Linked DNA regions of Homo sapiens: all the other regions are linked to region 2. The links are contacts of gene promoters, found by promoter capture Hi-C in blood cells and fetal thymus (Javierre and others, 2016). All regions are on one chromosome and are shown on one strand. The core of a region is centred on a gene start or on the middle of the fragment in contact, and the rest is flanking DNA. Distances in the headings are between cores, read along the strand shown.

The links. Contacts are between HindIII fragments. The CHiCAGO score rates a contact against its expected background, and 5 or more counts as called.
Region 1: a contact is called between a fragment that was not itself captured here and the fragment with the promoter of EXOC5 in region 2, in 1 of 17 cell types (non-activated CD4 T cells). The highest score is 6.3, in non-activated CD4 T cells.
Region 3: a contact is called between a fragment that was not itself captured here and the fragment with the promoter of EXOC5 in region 2, in 1 of 17 cell types (fetal thymus). The highest score is 8.4, in fetal thymus.
Region 4: a fragment that was not itself captured here is called in contact with the fragment with the promoter of EXOC5 in region 2 in 2 of 17 cell types (total CD4 T cells and fetal thymus); the score reaches 5.3 in total CD4 T cells.
Region 5: a fragment that was not itself captured here is called in contact with the fragment with the promoter of EXOC5 in region 2 in 1 of 17 cell types (fetal thymus); the score reaches 11.4 in fetal thymus.
Region 6: a contact is called between the fragment with the promoter of CDKN3 here and the fragment with the promoter of EXOC5 in region 2, in 6 of 17 cell types (naive CD4 T cells, non-activated CD4 T cells, monocytes and 3 more). The highest score is 17.3, in naive CD4 T cells.
Region 7: the fragment with the promoter of GCH1 here is called in contact with the fragment with the promoter of EXOC5 in region 2 in 5 of 17 cell types (fetal thymus, total CD8 T cells, naive CD4 T cells and 2 more); the score reaches 8.7 in fetal thymus.

The regions. Positions count from the first base shown.
Region 1 is chr14:54,503,549-54,507,631 of GRCh38, reverse strand. No RefSeq gene overlaps it. Among named protein-coding and RNA genes, the nearest start is that of CGRRF1, 4.3 kb to the left of the region's middle. The HindIII fragment of the contact is 4,344 bases long and covers 1-3,822 here.
Region 2 is chr14:57,267,106-57,270,843 of GRCh38, reverse strand. EXOC5 (exocyst complex component 5) reads left to right here and starts at 1,939. Exons shown (of 18, transcript NM_006544.4): 1 at 1,939-2,222. The coding sequence starts at 2,196. It overlaps AP5M1 (adaptor related protein complex 5 subunit mu 1), which reads right to left and starts at 1,873. Exons shown (of 8, transcript NM_018229.4): 1 at 1,456-1,873. The coding sequence starts at 1,529. RefSeq lists enhancers at 1,709-1,908, 1,556-2,139 and a silencer at 2,449-2,508. The HindIII fragment of the contact is 4,317 bases long and covers 441-3,738 here.
Region 3 is chr14:55,043,008-55,046,779 of GRCh38, reverse strand. SOCS4 (suppressor of cytokine signaling 4) reads right to left here. Exons shown (of 3, transcript NM_199421.2): 3 at 1-3,772. The coding sequence starts at 3,738. The coding sequence ends at 2,416. Among named protein-coding and RNA genes, the nearest start is that of MAPK1IP1L, 6.8 kb to the left of the region's middle. The HindIII fragment of the contact is 270 bases long and covers 1,344-1,613 here.
Region 4 is chr14:54,434,420-54,438,209 of GRCh38, reverse strand. It overlaps CNIH1 (cornichon family member 1), which reads left to right. Exons shown (of 5, transcript NM_005776.3): 2 at 1,773-1,841. Among named protein-coding and RNA genes, the nearest start is that of CNIH1, 5.1 kb to the left of the region's middle. The HindIII fragment of the contact is 4,014 bases long and covers 1-3,693 here.
Region 5 is chr14:55,022,421-55,026,280 of GRCh38, reverse strand. The region is part of intron 2 of WDHD1 (WD repeat and HMG-box DNA binding protein 1); the gene reads left to right. Among named protein-coding and RNA genes, the nearest start is that of WDHD1, 2.7 kb to the left of the region's middle. The HindIII fragment of the contact is 768 bases long and covers 1,757-2,524 here.
Region 6 is chr14:54,395,409-54,399,397 of GRCh38, reverse strand. CDKN3 (cyclin dependent kinase inhibitor 3) reads right to left here and starts at 2,391. Exons shown (of 8, transcript NM_005192.4): 1 at 2,321-2,391. The coding sequence starts at 2,329. The HindIII fragment of the contact is 7,211 bases long and covers 1-2,702 here.
Region 7 is chr14:54,900,344-54,904,515 of GRCh38, reverse strand. It overlaps GCH1 (GTP cyclohydrolase 1), which reads left to right and starts at 1,690. Exons shown (of 6, transcript NM_000161.3): 1 at 1,690-2,195. The coding sequence starts at 1,853. RefSeq lists silencers at 1,336-1,975, 2,386-2,435, 2,446-2,505. The HindIII fragment of the contact is 1,914 bases long and covers 1,243-3,156 here.

The DNA of each region.
Region 1 (4,083 bases), core at 401-2,900, 2.8 Mb after region 2:
AATAAAAAGTATCTTAGGCCGGGCATGGTGGCTCACGTCTGTAATCCCAGCACTTTGAGAGGCTGAGGTGGGCAGATAACTGAGGTCAGGAGTTTGAGACCAGCCTGGCCAACATGGCAAAACCCCATCTCTACTAAAAATACAAAAATTAGCCCAGCATGATGGCGGGCACCTGTAATCCCAGCTACTCAGGAGGCTGAGGCAGGAGAATTGCTTGAACCCGGGAGGTGGAGGTTGCAGTGGGCTGAAATTGTGTCACTGCACTCCAGCCTGGGCGACAGAATAAGATTCCGGCAAAAAAAAAAAAAAAAAAAAAGTATCTTAGACTCTTCAAGTTTAATTGCACCTTTTAGGAAGCTGGTCTCCTTTAGGAAAATGTTTAGTCTCTCCTCTCTCTTCTCTTGATTCTTCCCAAGACAGTATCTGATTGTACAAGGTGTTCATATGACCTGATGGTGGAGGTCAGGAAAATGAGACCTCAGCTCTGCATGACACCTGTAGGTCCTCACTAAGGGGAAGCGGGTTTCATCTGGCTTTTTGTGGTACCAGGCCAGCCCTCACTGCGGAGATCCAGGGTTCCAGCCATTTACCTCTGGTTGTAAAACCCTCATAAGCTATGGCTCCTTAGCTCCACTAGCTCACCAGACTGCTTACCATCTCCAATGTTACTTACTGGGGCAATATGTAAACATGTAGATTCTCACATATGTCACATGCAGGCTACTGAGAAGCAGCAGTTATCTCAGGATGCCCAATCAGGCTACCTCTGCCACTGAATGCCATTGCTCTAGCACCATGGTGAAGGTGGTGTGAAGCAAGCCAAATGTAAGGCCTCTCCTCCTTTCCTAGAGGGAAAGTGGACTACCAGCTCCGATCTCTTCAGTTTCTCCAGTACCCCACCTATTTGTTTTTTAATTTTTTTTTTTTTTTTTTTTTGGAGACAGAGTCTCATTCTGTCGCCCAGGCTGGCGTGCAGTGGAGCAATCTTGGCTCACTGCAACCTCCACCTTCTGGGTTCAAGAGATTCTCCTGCCTCAGCCTCCCGAGTAGCTGGGACTACAGGCACCCGCCATCATGCCTGGCTAATTTTTGTATTTTTAGTAGAAACGGGGTTTCACCACATTGACCAGGCTAGTCTTAAACTACTGACCTCAGTGATCTGCCCGCCTTGGCCTCCCAAAGTGCTGGGATTACAGGCGTGAGCCACTGCACCCAGCCCCAATACCCCACCTATTTGGGTGCTTCCGCTACAACCACCTGCTTCCCTGAGATTCCAGCCTGGAGGGATGTGGGGACAAAACTGTCTTTATTTTATTTTAATTTTTGAGACAGGGTCTTGCTCTTTCACCCAGGCTGGAATACAGTGGCATGATCACAGCTCACTGCAGCCTCAACATTCTGAGCTCAAGTGATTCTCCTGCCACTGCCTCTCAAAGTGCTGGGATTACTTACTCTTTATGTAGAAACATCGCTGGAAAAGATGGTCCCGATGCAGACCCTAAGAGCAGGTTCTTGGATCTCGTGTAGGAAAGATTTTGAGGCGAGTCAGAGAGAACAGTGAAATAAGCAAGTTTATTGGAAACTACTCTGTTACAAAGTAGGAGTCTTCAGCAGGAGAAGGAACATTCCATTCTTTTTTAGTGCCTCTATACTTATAAGAAACTAAAAGGAGCAATATTAAACTTGGAACATGCAGATGTGCTCACTAAAGGTAGGGGCTATTGGTGTTACAGGTGACCATTAATCAATCCTTCAACCCAAGCCTCTTAGTTAATGGTATCTTTAAGCAAAGTGGGCTGCACTCTTAGGACATCTGGGCATTCTGAAGGCTTGGTGGGAGATGCTCTGTATGGTTATAAATACTCTGCATTTATAAGTGGTGGTCAGCTTGAGATGTGACTATTTTCGACCAGAAGTATTAACCTTATAAGCCTTGTGAGTGCTTAGTTACTCACTCAAGATGGAGTCCCTCTGTTCATGCATTATTAAACCAGAGGCCTGAAAAGCAGGGGTTTCTCTAACAGGAACATCTATTCATTTTAAGTTTCCTCCAAAACAACCCTTGTTGTTACAGAAATCATAGGCTCTCCTCTGACACCCATAGCCACCTACACATTCCTTCCAGAGCACATATGCTCTTTTCCCAAGATATAAGCCCTGGGTCTGGGGTGTTGTAGTGCGAAGATCTAATTGTCTTGCGGCTGCCCAAGACAACATTTCTGTCTGTAAGTTTCCCTAATAAATCACATAAAACCAACAAACTGGATTTGTCTGCCTCCTTCTTTGGTTTCTCTGCTCCTTCAGCTTTTTATGGCCTTTTCACGGAACAAGGCGGAAGCCAGAACGGGTGGATATGATGCTGCACCTGCTCTAGCCCTTTCTCCTCTCCACACTCCAGCAGATCACAAGCAGAAGACTTTCCTACCCTCCTACTTGGCAGGTACTTTCCTTATGTCATAGCCTCACTTTCCCTGCCGTATGGCATACATTAAATACCACTCTTACTGTTGCCAAGGTCTTGATTTTGAAATGTTAACTGAACTTTAAAAGTTTATAAAGCCTTTATTTCTTGGTAGTGTCAGGCTTTTTCAAGATGACTGTGTTTCTTGAGATTCAAACATCTTATTTTAGAAGTCAAAAGCTGCTTTTTTTTTTTTTTTTTTTTTTGAGACAGAGTCTTGCTCTGTCGCCCAGGCTGGAGTGCAGTGGCATGATCTCAGCTCACTGCAACCTCTGCCTCCTGGGTTCAAGTGATTCTCCTCCCTCAGCCTCCCAAGTAGCTGGGATTACAGGTGCCCACCACCACATCCAGATAATTTTTGTATTTTTAGTGGAGACGGGGTTTCACCATATTGACCAGGCTGGTCTCGATCTCCTAACCTTGTGATCTGCCCGCCCCGGTCTCCCAAAGTGCTGGGATTACAGTCACGAACCACCGCACCCAGCCTAGCTTTTTCTTTTTAATTTCTGACATCACAGTTCTATTTATCCTTTGATGCTGATAGATGCTTCTGACTGACCAAGGAGAAGGTCCCATAAGAGAAATGCAAAAAATATATATATATATTTTGAGACGGAGTCTCACTCTGTCACCCAGGCTGGAGTGCAGTGGTATGATCTTGGCTCACCACAACCTCCGCCTCCCAGGTTCAAGCGATTCTCCTTCCTCAGCCTCCCAAGTAGCTGGGACTACAGGTGCAAGCTACCACGTTCAGCTAATTTTTGTATTTTTAGTTGAGGTGGAGTTTCACCATGTTGGCCAGGCTGGTCTCAAACTCCTGACCTCAGGTGATCCATTCGCCTTGGCCTCCCAAAGTGCTGGGATTAAAGGTGTGAGCCACCGAGCCTGGCCAAGAAATGCAAAAATATTAACATGTTTTTGAAAGTTATAATCTCCCTTATGTTATTTGCCTTGGAGCTGCCAACCCTTTCATTCATATTGTCTTTCTATAGTCCACATTCTTTCCTGGAAGGTCAGAAGGTCAGATCTCAATTTGGAAATATAAATAGGTAGGAATATAAATAATAAGGGTCCTAAATTTGAGTTTCAAACATGAGAAACTGGCAAATGGAACTGAATGTGCAATTTTGATATGACATCATAGATAACAGGAATTGTGAAAAATCTTATAGTAGTTTGGCAGAACCTAACAGCTTAACTCTTTATAGCCCATTGAACTTCCAAGTTCCTGAAACTCTCATGGTTTCAGATGCTGGGCTTCTGTTGTCTGTACATACTAAGTGGTAGGAGGCTACCTGAAGCCTGCTCCAACTGAGCTGACACTGATGATTAATGTGGTATTTAGTCTGTGGCCCAAAGCTTAGGACATTCATCTAGAACAGTGATTCTCAACTCGGAGTGTTCCTCCCTACCACTTCAACATTTGGCAATGTCTGGAGACATTTTTGTTTGTCACAACTAGGAAGTTGCTACTGGCCTCTAGTGGGTAGAGGCCAGGAATGCTGCTAAACATCCTACAATGCACAGTGCAGCCTACTCACAACAAAAAATGTATCCAATTATCCAATGTCAATATTGCTGAGGTTGAGAAACCCTGGTACAGAAAATTCTATTGGCCCTGG
Region 2 (3,738 bases), core at 690-3,189:
ACATTAGGAAGTGAAGTCTAAAGCACACTTAATTATGTAATTTGAAAAATGCATACAATGAAAAAGAGTAACATCGAAGATGTTAAGAGTTATCTGTCAGTGGGAAGGGAACGGCAGTTAGAAATAGGTAACCAAAGGGAATATAAGTAAAATGAGAGATACTTTGTACGGACTGATGCGCCTGGTAAAACCACGTACTAAAGAATATTATTAATCTCCTGTATTTGAGGTCCAACAACAAATGTTGGGGTTAGTGTCAGCCAGAAATCCTGGGGGGAAATGGTAAACTCCAACTCTGATGCCCTCAGGAACAAAAACTGTTAAGGTTGCAAAGAAGGAATTTTTCATATCCCCATTGCCAACCAATTTTCATTTAAAATTAAAATCTTTTTTTTCTGCCTCAATCTCAATTCTACTATGGTACTACTTCACTATAAGCTTTCTTCAGGGAAGAACGAATTGTGACAAAAAAGAACTATCAATGGCCAGAGAATAAAAGGTGAAATAGACCCACTCGATTGCCACCAACATTTTACAATGAGTTACTGTACAATTCCCTTAACAGAGCTATTTTGATTACACAGGGCAAATTCTAATAGTGGGACCAGATCAACTTAACACAATATATGAAATAGTGAATACATTTTTTTGTGTTTCTATTTTCTTCAACAATTAGGAACTGTAAACTGATGATTTCTACCATTGACACATATTAACAAGATAAAAATAAAAGCCTGGGCGGGGCGCGGTGGCTCCTGCCTGTAATCCCAGCACTTTGAGAGCCAAGGCGGGCGGATCACGAGGTCAGGAGATCAAGACTATCCTGGCTAACACGGTGAAACCCCCTCTCTACCAAAAATACAAAAAATTAGCCGGGCGTGGTGGCGGGTGCCTGTAGTCCCAGCTACTCGGGAGGCTGAGGCAGGAGAACGGCATGAACCCGGGAGGCGGAGCTTGCAGTGAGCGGAGATCGCACCACTGCACTCTAGCCTGGGGAACAGAGCGAGACTCCGTCTCAAAAAAATAAAAACAAAAAAATAAAAGTCTGATATAACTTAGCATGGATTTTTCAGTAGAATAAGTTAAAATGTTCTGGAACGATTTTGTCAATGCATGTTGAAAAATCTGAAAATGTTTAGTGCTCAGTAAATTTTCTACCGTTCCCTTAGTCATCTCCATTTTAATTCTAAGCAGACGGAGGTCATTTTAAAACACAATACTAATAGAAAACATATACCGTAAATAATATGTACCAGTCATCAACTCAATTCTCACAACACTGTAAGGTAGGACTATTAAAATCTCCATTTAACAGACGAAACAGAGGTCTGTTAACTGGCTAGCCCAAGGTCACGCAGCTATTCGTGGCAAACCTGGGCCACGAAGCACCACAAAACTATGCTACTTCATCGATCTTCTGATCCATCATCCCTGAGGATTCAGATTTGCATTTACCTGGAGAATCTCACGGTGCCACAAAGTGGAGTTCCCGGTTCGTGGCTTATGAGCCACACTGCCCGCTGCGCCATGGTTAAGTCAGTAAAGCATTAGCTCATCTCATAATTAAGGTCGCCACCGAGGAACAGCGCAGACCGGCTTTCTCAGACAGACTCTTAACAGAAGCCCTGAGGCTCATCCTGCGCCGCATACCGGTCGCGCTCAGCAGAGAGGTTAGCTTTTTTAGGTGAAGTCACTAACGCTTCTGAGTCGCTCTAGGCCAACACACACCACAAAAAGTTCTAAGAACCCCAACCTATAACCTTGAGAAATTTACCTATACCCTGCAACTCCGGTATTTTCTTCCTCTAAATTCTACTTCCGGAATGGTGGCCCGCAAGGATCAAAGTTCCTCATACACGGTAGCGTCGAGCCTTTTTTCGGTTCTTTCGCCGCTCGTTTTATTCGCCGGCCCCTCCCGACAACCTCCCTGGCGCGCGCAGTTCCACTTCCGGCGTATGAGGCGGTGACAATGGGAGCAGCGCGGGCGGCGCCGGGAGGCAGCTGACAAGCGTTTGCGGCTTCGCTTCATGGCCGCTCTCCCGCCCCTCCTGGGATCTGTGGGGAGCTGGGGAGCCCGCAGCGGCCCGGAGCCGGAGCTGGCGAGCCGAGCGGAGACCTGTGCGCCGCGCCTCTGAGGCGCAGCATGTGAAGCGGAGACGGCATCCAGTGGGGGGCGAGCCTCTCAGCCGGCCGGGATGGCTACCACGGCCGAGCTCTTCGAGGTGGGCCCCGGCGGCTCTACAGGGAGTGGCAGGCCCGGGGTTTGCAGGCAGCTGGGTGGGCGGGCCGAGGAGCGGGCGTTTGCTGGCTGCCCAGGAGGAGCCCTCGGGAGAGAGGTGCGAAACAGAAGGGTTGGGGTGGCAGCTCCGTGTCAGCGCGGGCGGAGCGTGAAATGGGGGAGGGGTGCTTGGGGCCGAGGTGGGCTGGGCGGCCGGTCGGCAGAGAGGGGAAGCCGGGTGTCCCAAGGGAGGAGGGTTGCTTTTGTTTGTGGGGGCAAGAGGGAAAGTCTGGAAGGTTCGGGTGTTGGAAGATGTCTACTCCGGATGAGTAGTGGGAAGGGCTGACTCAGGACGAGGAAAGAGAGCCAGGAGCCTCAGGTTGGGCGAGTCTTGTCGCTGGGGTCCTCGCGGGAATAATAGGAGGAAGCCACTTGAGATCGGGACTCTTGGGGGCTTCTCGTTTTGAGTAATTATTCCATTAGTAAGGTTGCAGGTGGCATTCATAGGACTGCCAGTTTAACCTGACATTTGAAAAGGCTGGGACAATTTTTTTTTTTTTGGACAATAAAGGCCTACTTATCTCTTTCGACTGAAGAGAGATAGACTGAAGGGAGGCAAAATTCAAGTGAACACTTTATTTCATGTAATACATAATAATACACTCGAGGCATTTACGTGTATTATAAAATAAAAAAAGTTTATAAAATAAAACGAACACTTCGTTTCATGTATATAATGCACCTTAAGTGTATTATATGCATTTACATGTATTATAAAATCACCTAACTGCAAGCTAGAGAATCCTTAATATGTAATAGTGAGAATACTAATGTCTTTCCTCGAGCGTTTACAGTATCTAAACCTTAAAATTTAATTTCGTGAAGTCCGTTGTAAGAAGCTGTGATAAAAGTTTGAGATAATAGAATAGGAAAACTCTAATTAGGCTACAAAACAATGACACGTATAAAGCATCTCCTTGTGTGAAAGAAATGAAAACGGATAAGAAAAAGGAAAGAAAGACCCCTTTTTTGTGTGTGTGCTTGTGTTTCACATTGAGTAACAAAAGTGTAATAATTGAGAAGACTGTAATCCACAATAGGGAACTTCTCCATAAGTGAAAATGGTATCCTTTTTCTGCGTAAGATTCAGCAGTTTTTGTGGCTTACAATTTGAATGCCACAGTTTTAATAACAAATGGAAATTTACATTTGTTATTGTTACTATATTTTGCATATCAGTCAGCTTTTGGATAGATAATGCTTTTTTTGAGAGGAGTAATATATGTTATTGTTATAATAAGTTGTAATAAGACAGTAATTTGTGAATGAAGGATTGTAATTACAAGAAAGACTTCAGAGATATTGTATTTTCTCACTTAAGTGTTGGGAGATATGCTACATTAATTTCTGTAATTCCAAAATTGTGCCATCTGTTTATTGACACAAGAACGGGGAGACATTTTTCCTGCTAGGAACTTTTACTGTGTCCCTAGGTACTAAGTAGTGCTGTGGTTCCTTGT
Region 3 (3,772 bases), core at 229-2,728, 2.2 Mb after region 2:
CTTTCCAAACTTCTTTTCACTGTAGCAAATACCAAAGGAAAAATAAAAATCATTTCAGAGTCAATGAATCTCCTCCCTGCTCTCATTTATTAGATCAACTACTTCAAGGCTACATATGTGGCAGTACTTTTTAAGTGTTAACAGCTGTTAATACCTTGAAGTTGAAAAAATAAAAAAGCCAGAGAAAACATATCACAAGCAATCAGTTTGAATTATATGAAAAGGTACTTAGATCTTGACTTTCATATAAATACTAATTTTAACACTATAAAAGACAACATAACTATATATCATTTTTCTTTATAAAACTACCCCTTAACAGAATATTTGTAAGCTAGTCATCCCTTAGGTTTTTCTGTACTGATAAAAAGTTATTTTTAAAAGAAAAATATTTAAAATAATTGTTTCACAGAAACAGAAAATCTTATCAAATTCTGATAAAAAACTATAATCATGGGTACTCTTACCACACTATTTTCTTTCACCAAAGATGGATATTTAGGAAGTGGTATATTGGTTAATAAGATAAGCTTCTCAGTGATCTACAAAAGCGCCACAATAAAGATGAGGTAGTATGAGACTTTTCTAACCTTGTAAAAGGTAAATATCGTCTTTAGAAGAGATATTTATCCTGACATTGGTGTTATGATATCCGATATCCTGAGCCTCATCACTGCTAAGAGGTGCCATTTTTGTAGCTACATCTCATTGAGACTAAGACAATCTTGAGATCACTGAGGAAAAAAAAAATGCTAAAAGATAACGGTAATAGAGATTTTCCTTAATTTTGTAATAATTACTAAAAAATTATTTTAAAGCTATTATGGAAAAATGCCATTTTCATGTTAACAGAACTGCAAGATAGGGAAATGCTACTCACATAAAAGCAACAATAATGAAGAAATATTTGTTCTAACTTGGAAGTTTATGAGTCAAATTTCTTTCAATCTAGGTAGAAGCAGTTTCCTAATATAGCTAAACTAGCATCAAGAAATCAGTTACGATATTAAAAATGTCAATGTGTACAAAGGGTTAGACAGCTCACCAGAAGAAAATTGTCTATCTACATTTATTATTCATTGATTCCTTAAAAAAAGAAGATAGGATACCACTCCATTTATTTTTACTAGTTACTTTGGGCTAAAGATGTTTCTAAAAACGTTGCCCTGTTTCTGGGATAGTAAATTTAAAATATCACCCCTTTTGTCCAGTACTGTTCTGTATGGTGTAAGTCATGTAGCTGTCAAAAGGCTTTCTTTTTTTGAAGCCACATTACAGACTAAGTTAATTCTGAAGATAGGGATAATTATTTGGATCTTGTAGATCAAAAACAGTATTAAGCTTCCTGAATACTGAGCTCCATGTTTATTTCTGGAATCTTTATTCAAATTCAACTTAAAATAATGAAAAACTACTTAGGTACTCTTTGGTTACCAGTGGAAATTTGTGGCTGCTAATACATTGTGGAATTTCCCCAAAGTAACAGCTCAGAGTTTCTATAAAAGGGCTAAGTAGAAGCAACAGTTCATAAGCTAATACAGAAAAACCCCACAATTACTTTAGCACTTTAGTAACTACTAGCTACTAATAGTGTTATCATTATTTTCAAAGCTTCCAATGAGAAAGGAACAAGATTTATGTTTTGAAGATGGTTTAGCTCTTGCAGGTTGAGAGAAAGACCTATTCAGGAATGACAAATGATCCGGCCACATTGTAGAAGAGTAAGTGCACCTCCAGAATGATATGTTTCCATTTGATTCTCATTGACCAGATTAATCAAATTTAGTAATCCTGCTTTAGAGTTAATATTTAAAATAAAAATACACCAAGTTTGACTTGGTTTTGTTACTTTTAACATCCCTATTAGTAAGTTACAAAAGTCAATAACATTAGTATGAATGGTGAATTACAACATTCAGCTTTACTGAAGAATATCAAACTCAATGAAAAGGGGGACGGGGAACTATATTTTATATATAATACTACTAATGGCATAGATTAACAAAATATTTTACATGTAGGAAAGGACATAAGATTACTTTTAAAGAATAGTATGAAATACACAATATTCAAATGTGTTTGCAATGCCTACCAAATTTCAAATGTGCCTGGATCATGTATAAATTAAGGAAAAAGGATCATGTATAAATTAAGGAAAGAAAAAATGTAAGTATACAACCTACACGGTAAAAACAAAAACCAAACACCTGGTTAAAAATATCTATTTAAGCTCGAGTGTATAACCTTAAACAATTTGTGTATCACTAGAAAAATGGATTTATTAGTAAAATTTAGGGCAGAGATTTTATTTTGGACACCACTGCCTTTGTAGAAAAATCCAAAGTGGCATAAAAAGAAAAATAAAATATTAAAAGAAAAAATATATATTATCATTCCCATGTTCCCATCCTGTTACTAGCATTGCTGTTCTGGTGCATCAATCCTGAGTACTCTAACTTTTGATTTATAATGATATTCCTTCAGATATAATTTCATAGAAGAAGGAATTGGAAGGGCATCGATGCCATCATAAGTTGTACAGTTACAAATAACTGTTCTGCATATATGCTGCAGGGAAAAAGGGAAAGTCCGAATTAAGGGAGTGGATAGAAGTGGTTCAAAGAACATACAGGCGCTTGGGTCCTTATAATGTTCTAGGAGCCCAGTAATGTCAGGAGAATGGAAGACACAGGGGTCATGTGCATCAAAGCTAAAGTTGTGATTCCACTGTTCAATTCTAGCATGAAGAGAACGACTATAGCGTCTAAAACTAACAGAGAATAAATAGTCTTCCTGTGCTGAGTCTCGAAGTAAAAAGGTACCCTCTGGTTTTCCTTCCAGTAGTGCTTCGGCTGCGTATTTATCCATCACTCCCCAGTAACATGGGTTGTTATTGATCTGAAGGAGGTCTGGTACAAGACAGTGGACATAATCAATCTGCGTGTGGTATTTAGGAGGTGTTTCCAACTGCAGGATTTCATCATCCAAATCCCATTTGGGTTTGTTTCTTTTTCTGGAACTTGTGCAAAGTGTTAGAATTTCATCATCGGAATCCATATCACTATCTTCTATACTGTTATTTGAAACCAGGTTCATCACAGAGCCAGTCATAGGACCTTCTCTACACAAAGCATTGTCGGTGGTTATGACACAGGGCTGAACATTGGTATGTGAGAAACAGTTTATATTTTCTTCCATATTTCTTCGTTTTAGCTGACCATCCCTCAATTCAGTCTGAGACAAGTCTGTGCTTACCCATTCATCTGATTTGGAATTTATAGGAGCAGTGTGTCGTTTAATAAAATGCCACCTAAAGGCTAAATCTGATCGAGGTGGGAAAGGACACTTATCTAACATGAGTTCACTGATATGAATTTTCCTTTTAGACGGAAGCCCTGAAGAGTGCCGACTACTACAATTCTTTATTGGAAAACACTGCCCCACGGCATCTTGCAGTTTCTGTTTAAGAGATCGGCCTAAAAATCGATGCCCACAGGAATGATCTAAGTCCAACTCAATGGATGAACAGCTGTGCTTCCTTTCTTGGTTCCTTAAAGACACTTCGGTTTTCTCTATACCATTCACTGTCTCAGCATCTGAATAACTCTCACTCTTTTTTGACCAAGATAACTTCTTTCCACTCCACACATAACCGTCTTTTCTGTCGGCACTTCTGCTCCGACTAGTTTTGGGCCTTACATCTACATTTTTACTAATATTTTCATTATTTTCTGCCATGTTAACAAATTATCCAGATTCTAATGTTATAAAT
Region 4 (3,790 bases), core at 437-2,936, 2.8 Mb after region 2:
TCAGGAGTTTGAGACCAGCCTGGGCAACATGGTAAAATCCCATCTCTACAAAAACTACAAAAATTAGCCAGGCATGGTGGCATGCACCTGTAGTCCCAGCTACTCCGGAGGCTGAGGCAGGAGAATCATTTGAGCCGAGGAGGTGGAGGTTGCAGTGAGCCGAGATTGTGCCACTGCACTCCAGCCTGGGTGACAGAGTAAGACCCTGTCTCAAGAAAAAAAAAAAAAAAACCCTTGAAGTCACCTGGAGAAAATGTCCAATTAAATGTCAGTTTTAAAGACAAGTTTTGTATTCTGTTAAGTTGGATCTTGTTATAGACAAGTACTTATGATTATCATCCTTGTCTTGAGCTTTATTACTAAAATGCATTGGGGTTATATACCACGGCTGACGTCAAGTAGCAGACTAATAACGTCCATAAGTAATCAGAAATTAGTATTTTCTAATTACACATGTATGTTTTTAACATTTGTGTTAGGTGTCATTAGCCAAGGGAAATCCCCCTGGTGAGTTCTGCATTTTTTTTTTTTAATCCCTAGTGCTATTTTTTTCACCCCCTCCTTCCAGTTAATATTTATTGAACACTTAACTATGTGCCAGGCACTATTTTATATTTTAGGCCCTGGGACATAATAGTAAATACAACAATCTTTGTTCTTTCAGAGATTACATTCTAATGTTTTATTATTTTCCTTCTATTGTTGTTTGGTTGGAGTTTTTATTAGGGCAGGTGGGTGAATTTTATGGAACTCTAGAAATTAAAAAAACCGTCTTTTTATGAATCTAAATTTTAACAGGGAAATAAACAGTCATGTTAAAAGATGGAAATATGTAACTTTACTGATTACTGATAATATTGAGCAACACTTTCACATATAAAGATACTATTCCTAACTCATTAAGGGAAGGGTAGCTTAGTTTGTGTGTCCCTGGGGTGAGTAGTGTTAGCAACTAAAATGGCTCCCCCATCAACTTGCTGCCTTTGTTTTCTTTCTTTGTCACCTGAAATGATGCCACAAAGTGGTGCAGAGTCCCTATTTTGACTCTTAATGTACATTCTAGTGACCCTTGAGGTTGAAGCCACATTCCTCCAGAGTGTGGACAAAAGCATCCTTACAAATGTATGTGTTTGGGCACCAATGGGAACACATTGAAGAGTTCGAATCCATCTCTAGTGTCCCACTGAGCACTGTGCCAAGGGAGGAGGAGCATGCACAGATAAATAAAAATGGTCCTTCTCCCTGAGAGTGTAGAGGGGCAGACAGACCTGTGTGTAAATACCACACTCCAGGGTGAGAAAAGCCATATCGATGGCATTATAGAGTCCCATGCTGTGTGGAGATGTGGGCAATTACTTCTGCCCAAAGGAGTTAGGAAAGCCTGCAGAAAGAAGTTGACCTAGGAAGGTTTGTTTTTTTTTTAGGATAAAGAGGAATTTGGATAAACAGTTGAAATTATTTTTCTACTCAGAAGATTATTTCGAGTAGAGATAAGTTGAAATAACTTGAGCAGAGGCATTGACGAAATTGAAAATTGAAGGTATTTATTACAGTAATACCAAATTTTAGTGATACTGAGATAAGAGTGTTTTCACTTTAAATCGCATTCTGGTTCTTTTTGTCATATATGAGTTTACTGTAAATTGGTATTTGGGATCTTGGTGTACTTTTGTTCTTGTTTTATTAACTTTAATAATTATTTGAAGATGGGGCAGGTTTGTTGCTGCTTTTAATTAAAGTGAGTGGTCCTAACTGTTTTAATTTTATTTTAGATTATAGCATTTGATGAGCTGAAGACTGATTACAAGAATCCTATAGACCAGTGTAATACCCTGAATCCCGTAAGTTATAATATAGGATTTATCTTTAGATTTTAAAAATATGTTTGTTTTTAACTTGAAGTAATTTGAAAATGGCCAGTATTCTGAGTAGCATAATATATTTGTACTTTTTGAAGTAGGCAGAATTTAAAAAATCTTCTTTTTCCTGTCGTGCTTGACTATTCTATTATTAATCTGCTGGTGATCTTGTCAGCTGTCATACTAACATTCTTCCAATCTGCTTTTTACATTGTCGGCCAAAGACAGTTGAAAAGGTCAAAAAGATTAAAAGAGTCAAAATTGCATTAAAGGTGTGTACTGCTTTTTAGTTAAATGTTTTAATGCTATATTCATTTCATGGGGAGGGTTAGGGCATTTGTATTTGTAACGTTTTGTTCAGTGTGCTCGTTCATATGCCTGTTGAGGTTTATGATTTCATGAAATTTCATATTTTATGCAAATATATGCTTGCTGGCCCAGTCAAGTAGGGAAAGCTGTTAAATGCGTATGCGTTTTTTTATGTTATAGCCATAGGCACTTCTATGTGAAATTATTTGGTGTAGTACTTGAAAGTTGGTTAACATAAAATGACTAATAGATGGTGAGATGATTCTCGGGTTGTGACTTATTGTGAGGTAGTATGTGAGTGAAATCTTTAGTATGGACTTATCTGCCATATCTAGTTTTATCTTTGGTTTGCATATTCTGGAATAAATGAGTCATTCTTTCAGCTGATGTTTATTCAGAGCCTGTTAGGTGGATAGCTCTGTTCTGGGGGCTCTGGGATCTCGCAGCAATGCCATTCTTTGGACTTAGGGTGCCATAATTTTGTAGATAACAATTTGTATACAAATGTCTATGTGGTTATTTCTAGTGTGTATCTACTTTCTGTTTCTAAAACAGGCCTGAATTACACTGAGTTCTGAGCCATCATGAATTTAGTGATAATGTAGCTCCATTGTGCTTAGGGTTTTTGAAAAAATATATATGTATGTATTTTTAAATTTTCTTTTGAGATGGGGGTGTCTCTATATTGCCCAGGCTCTTATCAAACTCCTGGGTCAAGTGATCGTCCTGCCTCAATCTCCTGGGTAGCTGGGATTACAGGCACACACCAGGGTACCCAGTTTGTTTTTTTGTATTTTTGCCTGCATTTAGGAAGATACTCTTTTAGCCTGTGTATTTGATTTTGCCTGACTGGTCAGTAATTGAAAGGTTGGTTGTTTATAAGAAAGCAGTGGGTATGTCTTCAAGAAATAAAATACAGTAATTCAGCTTTAAAAATTACTTAACGAAGGGGAGAGTTTGTGTAGATTTTAATTGTCTAGCATACTAGTGTACTAGCACTAGGTGCTAGAGGGATTTTATTTGGAAAAGCATCTAGAAAGTTAGTTTGGTACTTTATTATTGTTTCCCAGATAAATGTGGATGGTGGAAGAGATTTCTAGTTTGTCTTTAGAGAACTGTTACAGTAAGAGTTGATGTAGGTACAATTAAAAGTATTAACTTATTAGCTGTTTCTTTGCTCTTATGAAACAAGACATAAGAAGATGAATTTGCCTTCTCTTGGAAAGCATTAAGTGTTAATTTTAAAACATCTTAACCTAAGTAGTTGAAGTTGTTACCAGGAAATGAAGAAACTGAAATTTCCCCTTTTGATAGCTGTTTATTAATAGTATTCTGTGCTGTTTGTCTTTTCATTACTTCAATAACCAAATGATGATGAAGGTAAAAATATTTGAAATCAGATGAGGATTTTCCTGGGTGCTAGGCTCTGTGGTAAGCACTTTGCCTGAATTTTTAAATTTAATTCTCATGACAATCCTGAGGTAGGTAAATTGTTATCTCATGAATAGGAGAGTAAACTGAAGCTTTGCCAGGTTAAAGCACTTTGCCGAATGTTATACAGCTAAGATAGAGTCAGAACTTGAACTCAAGACAGCCTAATTTTTGAAGCTCAAGTTCTTGTA
Region 5 (3,860 bases), core at 891-3,390, 2.2 Mb after region 2:
AAACTATAATATTTTCCTACGGTTATTCTGGTCCCTTTTATCTTTCCAAGTCCCATTCTTACGCACTACTGCTCGATTGCACGGCTTCCACTGTCGCTTCTATGTTGATTGATTCATTGAAAAAATACTTGTGTGTCTCTTTTGCTGGGGACTACAGATAGAATAGAGCGAACCAGACACAGTCTTTTCCTCCTTTGAGCTTAAGGTCTTTTTGGATTGACAGGCATTGAACACAAATTAATCACAAAAATAAATGTGTATTTAGAAACAAGTAATATGTGCAGTGATAAACATGTATGAGGAGAAGCTCATCTAGTTAAAGGAGTCAGGGAAGGCTTCTTTGGACAAGTGTTTCTTGAGACGCCATCTGAAGACGGAGCAGGCATTAAGCAGTATAAAGAGATGAGTGGTGGTGGCGGTGGGGTGGTGATGTTGGCATAGTAAGCAGAGGCAATACTGTGTGTAAAGGCCCAATGGGGCCAGGGATCATGGTATGCTCAAAGAACTGAAGGAAAACTAGCCTTACTAAAATGTGGAGAGTGATGCAGAGTTTAGTGAGAGATGAATCTGTGAAGTTAGGCAATGGATGTCCTATCCAAGACCTTCTGGACTTTATTAAGGAATCTCGTTTTATCCTAAAAGCACTGAGAAGGTATTAAAGGCTTGAAGCAGAGAGATGTGATCAGGTTTGTTTTTGAGAAAATGCATGGAGGATGAATTGGAAAAGGAGCACTCATGGATGCAGAAAGACTGTTAGAAGATACCTGTATTAGTTTGTGTAGGGGCGGGTTGCCCCTCCACACTTGTGGGTGTTTCTCGTAAGGTGGAACGAGAGACTTAGGAAAGAAAAAGACACAGAGACTAAGTATAGAGAAAGAAATAAGGGGACCCGGGGAACCAGCGTTCAGCATATGGAGGATCCCGCCAGCCTCTGAGTTCCCTTAGTATTTATTCATCATTTGTGGGTGTTTCTCGAAGAGGGGGATGTGTCAGGGTCACAAGACAATTGTGGGGAGAGGGTCAGCAGACAAACACGTGAACAAAGGTCTTTGCATCATAGACAATGTAAAGGATTAAGCGCTGTGCTTTTAGATATGCATACACATAAACATCTCAATGCTTTACAAAGCAGTATTGCTGCCCGCAGGTCCCACCTCCAGCCCTAAGGCGGTTTTTCCCTATCTCAGTAGATGGAGCATACAATCGGGTTTTATACCGAGACATTCCATTGCCCAGGGACAGGCAGGAGACAGATGCCTTCCTCTTGTCTCAACTGCAAGAGGCATTCCTTCCTCTTTTACTAATCCTCCTCAGCACAGACCCTTTACGGGACGGTCAGGTCTTTCCCTTCCCACGAGGCCATATTTCAGACTATCACATGGGGAGAAACCTTGGACAATACCTGGCTTTCCTAGGCAGAGGTCCCTGCGGCCTTCCGCAGTTTTTGTGTCCCTGGGTACTTGAGATTAGGGAGTGGTGATGACTCTTAAGGAGCATGCTGCCTTCAAGCATCTGTTTAACAAAGCACATCTTGCACCGCCCTTAATCCATTTAACTCTGAGTTGACACAGCACACGTTTCAGAGAGCACGGGGTTGGGGGTAAGGTTATAGATTAACAGAATCTCAAGGCAGAAGAATTTTTCTTAGTACATAACAAAATGGAGTCTCTTATGTCTACTTCTTTCTACACAGACACAGTAACAATCTGATCTCTCTTGCTTTTCCCCACAAGTTTGGGTAAGTGTGATAGAAGCTTGGACTAGAGTAAACATGGGTGTGTAGAAAAGAGTAAACATTCAGGAAATATTTAAAAAGATAAAGTCAACAGGATGGATCAGATATTAAGGATGGAGAAAGAGGCAACAGGGATAACGTCTACATTTCTGAATGTTACGGTTGAGAAAGTGATGCTTCCACTTGCAAATAACAGGAACACTTGAAGAAGGGCGTATTTCAGAGGTAGAGCTGTGGGTGGAGATTGAGTTTGCGTTTGGATGTGATTATTGTAGGATTTCTTTGAGATATTCACCTAGAGGGATAAAGTAGACAGTTGGATAATTGTGTCTCAAGCTCAGAGAAAAATGTGAGCTAGAGATAGAAATATACAATTGACCCTTAACATGAATTTGAATTGTGTATGTCTACTTATACGTGGATTTTTTTCAATACACATATTAGAAAATTTTTGGCAGTTTCTAACAATTTGAAAAAACTAGCAGACGAACCATGTAGCCTAGAAATATGGAAAAATTAAGAAAAAGTATGTCATGAGTGCATAAAATCTATGTAGATACTAGCGTATTTTATCATTTACTACCATAAAATATACACAAATCTATTATAAAAAGTTGAAATGTACTAAAATTTACACACTCAAACATTTCCAGACCATCCGCAGTCAAGAGAAATGTAAACAAACATAAAGATGCAGTGTTAAATCGTCACTACATAAAATTAACTGTAGTATATACTGTATTACTGTAATAATTTCATAGCCACCTCCTGTTGCTATTTCGGTAAGCTTAAGTGTTGTATCTGCTTAAAACACTGTATGAGGTTGTATCTGCTTAAAACACTGTATGATGCTCATGAGCAGTTTGTCTCTCCAGTAAATTGCCTATCCCAGTAAAAAGACATCTCTGGTGATTCTCATATATTTTTCATCATGTTTAGTCCAATGCCGTAAACTTTGAATAACACCATGGGAATCATATGAAGTGCCACTAGTGATGCTGGACATACTCCTAAGAAGCAGACAAAAGTCATGACATTAAGAGAGAAAAGTTGAATTGCCTGATAATGTACTGTAGATTGAGGTCTGCAGTTGCGGTTGCTCACAATTTCAAGATAAATGAATCCAGTGTAAGGACCACTGTGAAAAGGAAATTTGAGACACTGTTACTGCAGCTATGCCAGCAGGCATGAAAACCTTGCACTTTTTGTGAAATAACTTTATCTTGTATTGAAAACGCAGCTTTTATGTGGGTATAGGATTGCAATAGAAAGGCATAGCTATAGACTCTAATGTGGTTCCAGAAAAAGTGAAGTCATTATCTGACAACTTAAAGTGAAAGGTAGGTGAAGGATCTAAAGCTGGAAAGTTTAATACCAGCAGAGGATAGTTTGATAATATCAGAAAGAGATTTGGCTTCGAAAATGTCAAGATGGCCGGGTGTGATGGCTCACACCTGTAATCCCAGCATTTTGGGAGGCCGAGGTGGGTGGATCACCTGAGGTCAGAGCATGCCCAACGTGTTGAAACCCTGTCTCTACTAAAAATGCAAAAAATTAGCCAGGCACAGTGGCAGGCACCTGTAATCCCAGCTACTCAGGAGGCTGAAGCAGGAGAATCACTTGAACCCGGGAGGTGGAGGTTGCAGTGAGCCAAGATTATGCCATTGCACTCCAGCCTGGGGATCAAGAGCGAAACTCCATCTCAAAAAAAAAAAAAAAAAGAAAGAGAAAGGGTCAAGATGGCAATAGAATCAGCTTCTGCTGACCAAGAGACAGCAGATTCCCAGACACCATTACGAAAATCATTGAGGAGAAAGGACATCTGCCTGAACAGGTTTTTTGTTTGTTTGTTTGTTTTGTTTTTTTGAGATGGAGTCTAGCTGTCTCACCGGCTGGAGTGCAGTGGCGCGATCTTAGCTCACTGCAACCTCCGCCTCCTGGGTTCAAGCGATTTTTCTACCTCAGCCTCCCGAGTAGCTGGGATTACAGGCATACACCACCACACACAGCTAATTTTTATATTTTTAGTAGAGACGGGGTTTTGCCATGTTGGCCAGGCTGGTGAACAGGTTTTTAATGTAGACTAAAGTGCCCTATTCTGTGGGGGGAAAAATGCCACAAAGAA
Region 6 (3,989 bases), core at 1,142-3,641, 2.9 Mb after region 2:
ACACTGTGGAACAGAGAAGAGAGTGACCACGTAGGTAGCTGGAGAAGGCTTCACAGAGGAAACGCTTTAGCTGGGTTTTGAAGGAAGAGCAGGTTTTAAAGAAGATAGGAAAGGGAGGGTGCGGTGGCTTATGCCTGTAAATCTCAGCACTCTGGGAGGCGAAGTTGGGCAGGTCACCTGAGGTCAGGAGTTTGAGACCAGCCTGGCTAACATGGCAAAACCTGGCTCTACCAAAAATACAAAAATTAACCAGGCATGGTGGCACATGCCTGTAATCCCAGCTACTCGGGAGGCTGAGGCAGGAGAATCCCTGGAACCCAGGAGGCAGAGGTTGCAGTGAGCCAGGAACACACCACTGCACTCCAGCCTGGCTGACAGGGCATGACTCTGCCAAAAAAAAAAAAAAAAAAGGAAGAAGAAAAAAGAAAGGAAAGAAGTTAAGCCAAGGGCTTGTGTATTGAGGAACTGTGATATCAAAATAGAGATGGAGTAGAGGAGATGAAGTAGTTTTGCCCACCCCTTTTCTCAAAAAACATCCCCACATGGCCTAGTAGTTTGGTGGGGGTGGTGTAGGTGAAATAACCTGCCTCCAACTTTATGAATCACTAGACTAGAGAGATTGAGATAGACTTCGTATGCTGATCTAAGCAGTTGGAACTTAATCCTGCAGCATTTTGACATGGAAGACTTCTACACTCCTTGTTGAAATTTTAAGGAATCAAAAGAAAAAGAAAAACAAAAACAAAACAGAACAAAACCCATACCCTTTTCTCACTCCCTAGTTGAAACCAATTGAAAGATAAAGAAATGGAGTTTTATTATTGTATATCAAATGGAGTATGCAGCTTAAAGCTGTTGCCACGTGGGCTTGCCCCTTGTTCACCCCAGAATTAGACAAATGTATCCACCCAGTCACAGGTGGCCATGGACAGTCTGGGGCTCCTGTGTGCCAGAGAGTGGACCAGAAAGCACCTTCTGCAGGCAGGCAGGTAGATCCCAAGAAAGAAGGAAAGAAAAAGTTGAGATACTGGTGTTCAGTTCCTTCCAAACTCGGGGATCAGATAACTCAATGGGGACAGGTGGAGAAAGAGGCCAGGAGTGAAGGACAGCTGATGTCCCTCCACATGGCAACATAGGGATTAGCAATTGTAAGCACCTAATGCTCTTTCTAGCTCTGAAGCTATATTCTACAACGGTCTTGGTACTAGAAGATCACAGGACGGCTAATTTAGGCTACGGACTTTTTTTTCTTTCTTTCTTTTATCTTGAGATAGGGTTTTGCTCTGTCGCCCAGGCTGGAGGGCAGTGGCGTGATATCCGCTCACTGCAACCTCTGCCTCTTGGGTTCAAGCTATTTGCGTGGCTCAGCCTCCCGAGTAGCTGGGACTACAGGCGTGCACTACCACGCTCAGCTAATGTTTGTATTTTTAGTAGAGACGGGGTTTCACCGTGTTGGCTAGGCTTGTCTCCAACTCCTGGCCTCAAGTGATCCGCCCGCCTTGGCCTCCCAAAGTGTTGGGATTACAGGCGCGAGACACCACCCGGCCCTAGGCTATGGATTTCTGTTGCTTTGGCTCTATCTGAAGTATTATAATCAACTGCACCCAAAGGAAAGGCTTCCAGTAGGTTGTCAAGCCGGGCAGTAGGAAATATGGGTTAGGTGGGGGATCTTCAGCTCCTTGCCTGCATCTGTTTTTTCTTTAAAGCAACTTTGATGATTCATATTTCAAATTTGTGTGGCCCATTCACCAGGTTTATTAATCCTAACAGAGCTGGACGTTTCTGCTTCCCCAGGCCCTGTGATTCTGAACGTCACGGGAAAAGAGCAGCATTGCCAGGTGGCCCTGGGGCATGGTGACAGCGGTGGTGTCGCCCACAAGCCGCGGCGTGGCATTCGTACTCAAGGTTTCCCCAGGCCCTGTGGGCGCAGGTAGCGCCCGGCCACCCTTCGGGGCTGGGGTATCGCGCCCACTCATCGCTGACACTCAAGCTCTTCGGCTCGGTTTCCTCGGTACAACGAGGCTCGGCCCTCTTTGGCTGGGCGGCTGGGAGGCTTATGAGACCCCGCAGGGGACAGGTGACAGCCCACAGCAGGTGCACAGCGAATGTCCGTCTTTCCTTCGTCGGCCACCGACCCTGCTCCTTCGTCTCTCGTGCCCGTGCTGGGCCCGTGCGAGTCACCTCCCCGACCCGCAGAACGGTTACGGCGCCAGTCGCACTGCTACCAGGCTAGGGCTGCCCTCCGGCCCAGGATCGGGTCCCCGGGACCGCTTGCGTCCCTGCCGCCTCGCTCCTCCAAACCCCAGCACGTCCGACTCACCGGCTTCATCGCTGGCCGCCCCACGTCGAGACCAGTGCCGCCTCCCTCTGCAGCGCCGGCGACTCACCGGTGCCCCGGCCGAGCCCGCGCCCCGCAGCTTAGCTCACTGGTTCGTCCTTCTGTGAGGTGGGCGCGGCGTCTTCCAGCAACCAATCAGATCCGCTTCTGGTTTCTTACTCCGCCTTTGGGTGGCCGAAGACTCGGCCTCTAATCGCTGACTGGTTCCTAGAAGACCTTTGAAAGACGCGCGGGAGGCGGGCCCTGTGGGACGTTGATTGGCTGGGAGGGCGCCCTCCTCCCGCCAGTTGGGAGAGTGCAGGGGGCGGAGGCGGGGCGGAAGAGTCAGAAGGCGGCCCTAGCGCTTGGGGGACGCTGGAAAGCTTTGCTTCTTGATGGCAGGATGTCAGCGTGGTCCATACGGTTGGGAGGTGATTTTTTTTTTTTTCTTGAGACGGAGTTCGCTCTTGTTGCCCAGGCTGGAGTGCAATGGCGCGATCTCGGCTCACCGCCACCTCCGCCTCCCGGATTCAAGCGAGTCTCCGCCTCACCCTCCCGAGTAGCTGGGATTACAAGGATGTGCCACCAAGCCTGACTAATTTTTGTATTTTTTGTAGAGACGGGGTTTCTCCATGTTGGTCAGGCTGGTCTCGAACCCGGGTTGGGAGTTTTTGTGTTTGTGACGGAAGTCTTACTATGTTGCCCAGGCTGGCCTCGAACTCCTGTCCTCAAGCAATCCTCCCGCCTTAGCCTCCCTTGTAGCGGCTACGGTAGGGAGTTTTTGTTTCTTTAAGTTGTATTTTTATTTTTTATTTTTTAAGGGCTCAGGGAAGCACTGTATTGGATCGTCACATGAAAAACATCACATAGACTTTGTAATTATATCTAGACATACAAATACTAGGGAAAAAACTAAAAATTTAGAGTATAAACATATTTTATATGCTTGAAGTTTTAGTTTATCGTTCCAGAAACTAGACAAGTTACAGTGTAGATCAATATTCCTGTCCCCCAAATATGAATTAAATTATATTGTGTGAAAGGGAAATTATAAAATGCCAGGTAAGATAGGTCTAAGGGCCAGTGTGTCTACATAATTAGCTGTAATCTTTTAAAAATGTGAGTATTTCTCCGCCTTCTCCAGTCCCCATTTAACTAGCCATGGGAAAGGAAGTCGCCTGGAGCAGATCTGAGAAAAATATGCAGAAATTTCAACCCCTGATTCATGTTGTGAAAGCCAATGGGTATAGAGCTATTAGAAGGAATTCCTTAGTAAAGAAGGTACCACAGTTTGATTTAGAGACTGTATTAGCTAGTCATGGTTGCCCAGAGATAAAGAATGAATAGGATGTGTATATATGGATATAGAAACAGATTTATTTTAAGGAATTGGCTCCTGTGCTTGTGGAAGCTTGGAGAGTCCAAAATCTGATGGGGGGAGGCCAGTGCGCTGGAGACTCAGGAAAGGCTGTACTTCGAGTCCAAAAGCTGTTGTAGAACAAAGAAGAGCCAATATTGCATGTAAAGTCTGAAGGCTGTCTACTGGCAGAATTACCCCTTGCACAGGGCAGGGTCAGCCTTTTGTTGTATTCAGCTCGTCAACTGATTGGATGAGGCCCATCCATATTATGGATGGCAGTCTGCTTTACTCAACGTTTCCCAATTTAATGCA
Region 7 (4,172 bases), core at 441-2,940, 2.4 Mb after region 2:
TGAGCCCTGGAGTTCGAGACCAGCTTTGGCAACATGGTGAAACCTTATCTCTACCAAAAATACAAAAATTAGCCAGTCTCATAACCCGCTCTTAAATAAATAGATTAAAATTTAAAAATAAATAAATAAATAAATAAATAAATAAATAAATAACCCCACTGATATGAACATTTCTTCCATTTTGGAGTAAAGGTGCCTACAAGGCTAGGCAATGTCCATATTTCTTTCCTGAATGTTTCCAACGGGGCTGCGCCTAGAGCAGATGTATCATAAATACTAATTACTTATTATAATGACCAAGCTACATTGTTAGCATAGAATAATTCCACAGGCTTCCCTATTGGTTTGTTTGATCCTAAGCCTATTAATACCTGCTTCTATGTCAGAAAATCTACATTAGGCCAGGCATGGTGGCTCACACCTGTAATCCCAGCACTTTGGGAGGCCGAGGCAGGTGGATCACCTGAGGTCAGGAGTTCGAGACCAGCCTGGCCAACATGGCAAAACCCCACCTCTCCTAAAAATACAAAAATTTAGCCGGGCATGGTGGCAGGTGCCTGTAATCCCAGCTACTCAGGAGGCTGAGGCAGGAGAATCGTTTGAACCCAGGAGGCGGAGGATGAAGTGAGCCTCAAAAAAAAAAAAAGAAAAAAAATATTATTTTGATACATGTTTTAAAGCTCACCTTCGGCATTATGAGATAATCCCTCAAGTGAGGAAAAAGGTCCATTTATTAATCTCAAAGAAAACAGTTACAGCAGATGTCACTGGTTAAGAGTTCAGTTGGTGAATAGCATTTCACAATTTGTACCAACATCTGGGGAAAGACGCTTTGCATGGAACTGTAAAACAATTGAGCACCAAATCTGCACAACTGCGTTTCTAGAAAATGCGATGGGTTTTATAGAGATGAGGTCTTGCTATGTTTTCCAGGCTGGTCTCGAACTCTTGGCCTCAAGCGATCCTCCCGCCTCGGTCTCCCCAAGCGCCGGGAGTACAGGCGTGAGCCACCGACGGAAATGGATTTTAAGTGAAAGTCCTATCTTCGTTTGCAAATCAATTTTTCCAGGATCAAAGTTCTAGCAACCATAAATCCTATCCTTCTAGACATAGGGACCCACATAAGGGCCACTTGATGTGACACTTGCCCCGACAGCGGTGCCACCTGGCCCCTAGGTGGCAGGTGCGTTTTTAACTAAACCCAAGAGTCTGAAGTCACATTATTCTCTTGCCTTGAAAGCTTAAGAGTTGGTTCCTAATCGGTGGCTTAACTCGGTCTCTCTCCAGGCAAGGCCACCTGTTTGCTGATCTTTCACAGGGCGAGGGGACCGGAGCCCTTCAATGCAGCGCCCTCTTGGCCTGAAGAGGGGGCGACTGGGCGCCCAGACCGCGTCTTTCTCACTGAGATCCCAGCTCCTGGACGACTGCCTCTTTTCGGGTTCGGCTCATTCCGCAATAAGTGGAGGGGTCCCGCCTGATCCTAGGGGCCGGCGCCCTTTTCCTTCCCTCCCTGCGCTTGCGAACCCCTCCGGGCGTCTCCGGAGCCGCGACCCCTGCTGGGGACCCCGGGGGCGGGAGGCCGAGGGGCGCGGCGAGGGCCGTGACGCGAGGCGGGGCCGGCCAATGGGAGCGCTCCGCGGCGCAGGCTGAGCCGCCGGGCCATAAAAAGGAGGCGCGGCCGGGCTTTCCAGCCTGTGGCCGCTCCCGGCTCGGAGTGTGATCTAAGCAGGTTGCGTACCTTCCTCAGGTGACTCCGGCCACAGCCCATTGTCCGCGGCCACCGGCGGAGTTTAGCCGCAGACCTCGAAGCGCCCCGGGGTCCTTCCCGAACGGCAGCGGCTGCGGCGGGTCCATGGAGAAGGGCCCTGTGCGGGCACCGGCGGAGAAGCCGCGGGGCGCCAGGTGCAGCAATGGGTTCCCCGAGCGGGATCCGCCGCGGCCCGGGCCCAGCAGGCCGGCGGAGAAGCCCCCGCGGCCCGAGGCCAAGAGCGCGCAGCCCGCGGACGGCTGGAAGGGCGAGCGGCCCCGCAGCGAGGAGGATAACGAGCTGAACCTCCCTAACCTGGCAGCCGCCTACTCGTCCATCCTGAGCTCGCTGGGCGAGAACCCCCAGCGGCAAGGGCTGCTCAAGACGCCCTGGAGGGCGGCCTCGGCCATGCAGTTCTTCACCAAGGGCTACCAGGAGACCATCTCAGGTCAGTGCGCCCGCGGGCTGCTAGAGCGTGCGGGCGGCGGGGGCGGTGCTTGCAGGAAACGCGCGCCGGCTCCAGGAAGTTTCCGGAGTTGCCTCACTTTTGGCGCAGGAAGCCGGGCGCTGTCACCTCCGAACCCGCCCTAGCCTGCCGCCCTGCCGAGGCCCTGCGTGGGGCACAGTCGGGGCTTCCTGGGTGGCAGCGACCTCTCAGCCCCGGAACTCGCTGCAGCCGCCTTCCAGGGGCCCTTCCCGCTCCCAGCGCGCAGCCCTCCTAGAACGCCCCGGGTGGGCGTGGACGGGAGCCCGGAGCCCTCTCGCCTGAGCGCCCAGCGCGGGATTCTCGGGGTACCTGCGGTTCCAAACTTGCCCACGATAAGGATCACCTGGGCACTTGCTGCGGCGACGGCTTCCTGGGTAGTTCCTTATTGAGATCCCATTGTCAGGGTGTGTATCTGGATTGAAGCCTCGGCGCGATCCTTCCCCGAAACCTCGGGGACCTGCATTCCCACTGATTTGCCAGGGGATCGGAGTCTTAGAGTTGTGCTTTTTTTTTTGTCCACCTCAAGTTTACTCCAGTTCAGGACATTTACAAAATTCGGCACAATTTTGGGCACGGGCTTCCCCGGAGTTTGAGGTGTGAGGTTGATTGGGTGAGTTTGCTGCTGAAATCTGTTTCCTCCCCCCACCCCCAACCCCGCAAAAAGCAGTAAAGCTACTCCGGGATTCGGAGGGCTCCGTGGGTTCCAGGACTCAGTCTCATCCCCGCACCCTCCCACCCTAAAATAAAGCCGGGTTGACCCGGTGCTGTTAGCGTCTGAGGCGTGTCGGCTTTTCACCCAGAGGGTGGGGATGCAATCAGTGTGGGTAGGATGCAAGATGGGGTGATGGAGAGTGGAAAATGGGGACTTTGCTGCCTGTTGGCCAGAGAAGCAGTATTGGTCTGTGTTTAAAAAAATAAAGCTTCTGGCTTCTACAGCTGGGACCAAAGACATTATTTTCCAGTCTACACCTTCCGTGTGTCTTGGTGACATTTATTTATTTGCCCTAAGAAGCATTCTACCGTTCACTGTTTTTTGAAAGAAAAACAGTGCGCTGGAAAGGCAATCTCCCTGCCCCAGTTATTTCTCTGAAGGAGTGTAGAGCGATTCCACCAAATAGACCCTGGGAAAAAGAAAGTTATTTTTTGCCCAGTCTTCCACACCCCAAAGGAAGGGTGGGAAATCAGAATGTGAAAGAGACGGGGCCCCAAAAGGAAATGATGCTACACTCTAAAACCGGCAGTGACTTCTAGTTCTGTTTCCAAATTCACTTTTTTTTACCCCTCAATTGCAAAAGTTTGGAATCTCAGAAGAGATTTCAAAATACAAAGACTGAAAAATAAACTTTCAGTTTTCTGTGGGATCAGCTCTTTGGAGGTCTAGGGCTTTAAATTTGTGTGTGTGTGTGTGTGTGTGTGTGTGTGTGTGTGTGTGTGTGAGATATTTCACAATGTAATGAAATGTCTTCTTAAGGCCTTACTCATTTTGCCCCTTGCAGACACAGAAAGTGGTTTACTTCACAGCATCGGCCAGGCTTTGGGAATCCTCCCTTAAAGAGAATTCATAGGACAGTGTTCTGTAATCTAGCATGGATCTAATTACCCAAAGAGAGAGGAATTTCTGACCCTGAGACAGGTCACAGAATTATCTAAAGTGACTCACAGATTTACTTGAGAAATGGTTAGCTGAAATATCTCATGAGCGAAGATTCATTTAAAGAGGATTAATAACTGCAAAGAACACATCATTCCACATTAGAAAACTGTTCTGGTTGGCCGAGCTCGGTGCTCACGCCTGTAATCCCAGCACTTTGGGAGGCCGAGGTGGGCGGATCACCTGAGGTCAGGAGTTCAAGACCAGCCCGGTCAACATGGCGAAACCCCGTCTCTACTAAAGATACAAAAAAATTAGCCGGGTGTGATGGCGGGCGCCTGTAGTCC